Linked DNA regions of Homo sapiens: region 2 is linked to region 1. The links are contacts of gene promoters, found by promoter capture Hi-C in human tissues and cell types (Jung and others, 2019). All regions are on one chromosome and are shown on one strand. Each heading gives the region's core, a stretch centred on a gene start or on the middle of the fragment in contact. The rest is flanking DNA. Distances are from core to core; before and after follow the strand shown.

Region 1 (2,700 bases), core at 79-2,578:
ATTTTTTTTTAAAGCAACACAACCAGCCAGCCAAACAAAATCAGAATCTCTTTCCCTCCTGGGAATGTCTGGGAATAATTAGCTCACTTTATGTGTTATGTTATTTGAGGAGAGTTTTACCAGACTTTTTTTTCTAGTCATATCTTTTAGACACATAATCTACTTGCTCCCTGTCTATCCCCAATTACCACGTGAAAATTATAAAATAAAATTACGGCTCACAGAAATCAGTTAATAATGTTCCACTTGTTTTTATATTTACTGAATGTGTGTTAACTCACCCTCTGGATCTCGCGCGTGTATCTGCCCTCAGTACAGTATCTATTTGCATGCGCCTCTTTGTAGTTTGCGAATATACAGGATTGATTTAGAGTCAAGTAGAGGAAACGAAAATCCACACTACGAAAGCGGGACCAACCCTAGGAAAATGCAGGGGGAAATGAAAAGCTCTGTGATAAAGAGATTCAGAGATCTTTCAATCCCTAGGTTTTTAGAATGTTGAGAAAAGGGAGGAAGGAAGCCAAGACAGAAGGTAATGGGCTGTCACTATGCCCTTCACACTTACAACCTTCCTAGATCATTGAGAACACGGTCCGAGGCAATTGGGTTAAAACGATATATGTATAAATTTCTTTTTTTACCTCGTTAGCTGGTCAACCCCGGCGGTAAACAACCAAGGCCACCCCTGCCCAGGCAACAGCTCCAAGGGGCAGGCGATGGTTGCCGGCATTGAGCTCCCTGCTGGCGCCTTCTGGCGGGACAGCCAGTGCCAAAGAGCGCCCAGGGAAACAAACACCAATGGGGGACTATACAGATGTCATGGATGCACATGTAGGATCATAATCTGCCCAGAAAGAGGAGAGAAGGAGGGCGACAGGCTGCGGATCCTGGTCCAGGAGCCGCCGCAATGGAGCGGGCGGCAGTGTGCGCGCACAGGTGCCACAGGCCGGTGGCGGGGAGAGCTGTAGAGGCTGCCTCCCGGACTCAGCACTCGCACCAGCGCGCTGAAGCCGCGGCTGCTGCCAAGCTTGGGTAACCCCCAGCCTGAGCCACGAGAGGAAGAGCCCAAGGAAAGGGCGCGAAGGGGGAAGGAGGGTAGGGTAGAAGGAGGGCGGGGGAGAGACCCATCGCCTCATCTTACATTTCCCCTCCCAAGCTCATTTAGTGGGAACCTCTGCTGGGCTCCTGCGCGCCTCCCTCCCCACCCCCTCAACTCTGGGCGACCATCTCCCCCTCTTCCCTTGCTCACCCCCCACCCTTCCTGCTCTTCCGTCCCTCCCTACCGCGTGCCTCCTCCCCTCCCCCTCGCCTCCCTCCCCTCCAGCGGCAGTAGCTGTAGCAGCTTCAGCGAAGCCGGAGATGGGCAGAGAGCGCGCGCGGCGCAGCAGCTCCAGATTCACTGCTCTCCCCTGCAGCTCCCCGCGCCCCCGCCGCTGTCGCTGCCTCGGTGTCCCCCAGCCCCAGTCGCGCTCTTAGGACAGCGCCGCCACCGCCGCCTGGCCCTGCCTGCCTCCTGCGCCGCGCAGCCCTCGCGAGCGCCCCGGATGGCGCTTTACCCCTAGGACCGGTGAGTAGGCGGGAGAGTGCAGGGGGTCGGGCGTCAAAGCTTGGCGCGGAGAGAACATCTTTTGGTTTGGGAGGCACCCCAAACCAGCTGCTGTGATTCCCCGTCCTCCAGGCAGAGGGTCCAGGGAGGGTGTTGCTCTGTGGTCCCCAAGGGGATGTTTGATTTCAACTCCACCTGCTGGCAACCTGAACCCCTCTCCGTCTTGGGGACAGCTGCCTGCAGCTCGCAGTCCCGCCTCACCTTCCAGCCCCCAGGCTCCCACACTAGCAGCAGTAGATGGCCCCGACCCTCTGGTCACCCCAAACAGGGTCATCTCTACTGTTACTGTCCCTGCGTTCCCACCTTATGCCAGTGCACAAACGCCCCTATCTGCCACCCTTCACCCGATCTCGCGCTGACAAAGCCTTCTCCACAAAGTCCTCCCTGACCCACCTTCTCTCCTTTCCCAAAGCCTGGCTCTCGAGCCCGACTGTCCCGTCCTATTCCTTCCCAGGGTGAATGGTCCTTAGTGAATTCTGACCTCATTCCCTCTACACAATGGTGCCTGTCCAGATTTTCTGACAGTCACCTCAGGAAATTGACACAGACACGCTGTGATCCTGGTTTCTGTACAGTTACTTTGTGTGTTACTCAGCACCTGGGCTGTTAAGGGTATTATCAAGCGTGAAAAAATAAAGACAAAAACCAAACCCTTTGGAAACAAACTTTTTGTTATTGTTGTTTTAAAGCGCAGAACTATTTGCATTGCTTAGGTTTGTTCTGTTCATTGAGAGGCGTCTTAGCTGAGTACAGGAAATACACCTATTTTACCTGTTCCTGCGGAATTGGTCTTACTTCCAGGTTAAGAACGGAGGACTTGCCTAGGTGGTGAATCTCTTTCAGCAACAACACTATCAAAAGCTCAGCAACTCTTGAGGATAAGAAGCTTTTTCTTGAAGGAGATGAGAGTAGCACCAAACTTACCCTTTAAAATCTTCTTTGAAATTGCAATAAGCCAAAGCTCTTATTTTTCTTTAGGTGTAGTGGCTAAAAGAGCGATATAGGAGGATTAGAAAACATTGTACCAAGAAGCTCCTGCACTATTTGGGTGCTTCCAGAGTTGTGTAGTATCTTAGCACCAGACGGTATTGCTG
Region 2 (2,700 bases), core at 85-2,584, 57 kb after region 1:
ATCACAGATAAAATAATTCTGGAAGTAAAAAAATTGGTTTGCCCATGGCAAATCAATTATTTTAAAAATGAAGCTTAAATGTCGTTTTAGTGAAGAGTATAAAGAGCAATGGGCTGCAAATCTGAATACCTGGAAGCTATGGCAGTTTAACCATTACTACATCAACAAAGGAGCAAGACTCACGGCATTTTTAAAAATTGTCACTAAGATCTCTTCTATCCCTAAACATCTATGACCAAAATTTTAACAACAGCCAATCAATAATTATATAAATGATAATAGTTAATATTTAAAATTAAAATTTAAGTTTTTTTTTCTTTTGTAGAGACAGGGTTCCACTATGTTACCCAGGCTGGTCTCAAACTCCTGGGCTCAAGCAATGCTCTCATCTCAGCTTCCCAAAGTACTTGGATTATAGGCGTGAGCCACCACACCCAGCCCAATAATAGTTAATTTTATTTATTGTGACTATTAAACTAGATGTGGTGCAAAATGCTCTCTATGAATTATTCTTTTTAATACTTGCAATGACTTCATGAAATACATTCTATAGGCTGGGTTCCTAGGCAATATAGTAAGACCTTATCTCTATTTAAGAAGAAAAGAAAAGAAATAGGTTCTATTATAGACTCCATTTCTTAATGAGAAACTAGGGGTTTAGAGATGTTAATTAACTTGCTGAGGTCATATAGCTGCAAGTAGCAGAGTCAAGATTCAAACCCAATTGACTATAAATCCCAGACTCAGAACCACTACACTACCCTCTCTCCATATCTCTTATCTTATTTCGTACCACCTTATTTCTAAGCAGTCAGAGCATAGGAATGACTGATTATAAATATGGAAAATGTGCATTAAAAACACTAATGATGTAAAAAATTGTATCTTTCTCCTATTATTCTCTGCATCACTTTGTAGATTGCATCACAAATATATCTTTGTCAAATACACTGAAAGAGCATTTTTTTCCTCTCTATATACTCACTTGTCGGAATCTTTAAAAACAAAACAAGGGAGAGGATCATGTTTAAAATTACTATTCCATAAAATTACTAGTCCATAATGATGTCCACAATTCACTAAGCTTGGCACGTACCTCTATGGGGTATGCACATGGTTATTTTTATAATGCCTTTGTGTTCCATGAATTTTTGCCTTATTCAGATAGAAAAAGGCAACTTTTTTTTCTATCTGAATAATGAAGTTCACTGGTTAATTCATTAGTGAAAGAAGATTTTTTAAAGTTTGTCATTTTGTGCTATATTTTAACTGAAGTACTTTGATGTTAATAAAAATTGCACAAACATAGCTATGTAAAGTTTATAGTTACTCTAAGCATGAGTAAATGTGGCTAATGGATACTTTCTAGTATATTGAGCAGATAGTAATTATGCACCATACATAAAGCCTTATTTGACAGGCATATGTCAGAGCCAGCATATGTAGGGCACTGGAGTTACAGAGAAGAAGCAGACACTCCTCCTACCTTTAGGAGTCTTTCCATCTAGCTGGAGAGATACACATGAACAAACAATCAGAAAACAGAACAAATGCTCTGACTTGCAATGTGAGCACAGGGAACACCACGTTATTTCTACCTGGATATAGTGGGAGGATGGAAATCAGATGTCTCACAGAGAAGAAGAGATTTGAACTGTCATTAGAAGAAACATTGGCCAGGTGTGGTGGCTCATGCCCGTAATCTCAGCACTTTGGGGGGCCAAGACAGGTGGATCACAAGGTCAGGTGTTTGAGACCAGCCTGGTCAATATGGTGAAACCTCATCTCTACTAAAAATACAAAAATTAGCCAGGCGTGGTGACACACCCCTGTAGTCCCAGCTACTCGGGAGGCTGAGGCAGAATAGTCGCTTGAACCCAGGAGGCTGAGGTTGCAGTGAGCTGAGATTATGCCACTGCACTCCAGCTTGGGAGACAGAGTGAGACTCCGTCTCAAAAAAAAAAAAAAAAAGCATTGAAAAGATAAAGGATGGTATTACTGATAAACATGCAACGCAAGTAAAGGCCTAAAGGCCAGTGAGTGTGTAGTATTCAATAGGATATAGGATAAGCAGGTCTAAATATCAAGAGTGAGGTCAGGTTGAGAAATGGATTGAACATTATCAGTATCTTGCTATTAATTAAAATCTTTGCACAGCATGAGAAGCAGAGCTAGAAGAATAGAGGCTTGAAAGGGCGATGGGGAACAGAAACATTAAAGGCGCGAGATGCTAATGAGGGGCCCAAGATGGTGCTTTAACAAATTGTTTCCCTCCTTATAAATTGTTCTATATCCAGTGCTGCCTCTCATTAGCTGTGTAACCTTGTACAACCCTCATCCTGACACAACATCTGTCATCTGTGGAATGAAGAAAGACTCATTCATTCATTCCCAACTTGAATCCCCACAGGTAGTAATGGAGTTTTCAAACTAAACTAAAATTCCATTTAGATTTTCAGTATTACAAAATAACAGTATAACTACGGCTTGTTTACTGATTTAAAATCTTTTAAAATTTAGGGCCTGCAATTAAAATAATAAAAAATATCTACTAGTGAGAAGGTTGCAAACCATTAGCCCAGATGATTCCAGTTCTAAAAACCTGTTATTTTATTATCTCACCGAATATTAGCAGTAGTTGGTTTTTAACATAAAATTTGTACTGCACCAAACAATATCCACAGTGTCCCCATCCCTGAG

The links. The method cuts DNA at HindIII sites, captures the fragments that hold promoters and counts their contacts. A contact is called where the count stands out against the background at its distance.
Region 2: a contact is called between a fragment that was not itself captured here and the fragment with the promoter of FUT9 in region 1, in 1 of the 25 tissues and cell types used here (dorsolateral prefrontal cortex).

Annotation. Positions count from the first base shown.
Region 1 is chr6:96,014,646-96,017,345 of GRCh38, forward strand. It overlaps FUT9 (fucosyltransferase 9), which reads left to right and starts at 1,329. Exons shown (of 3, transcript NM_006581.4): 1 at 1,329-1,567. LOC107986626 (a long non-coding RNA gene) reads right to left here and starts at 788. Exons shown (of 3, transcript XR_001744263.2): 1 at 642-788. The HindIII fragment of the contact is 1,974 bases long and covers 76-2,049 here.
Region 2 is chr6:96,071,495-96,074,194 of GRCh38, forward strand. The region is part of intron 1 of FUT9 (fucosyltransferase 9); the gene reads left to right. Among named protein-coding and RNA genes, the nearest start is that of FUT9, 57 kb to the left of the region's middle. The HindIII fragment of the contact is 7,127 bases long and covers 1-2,700 here.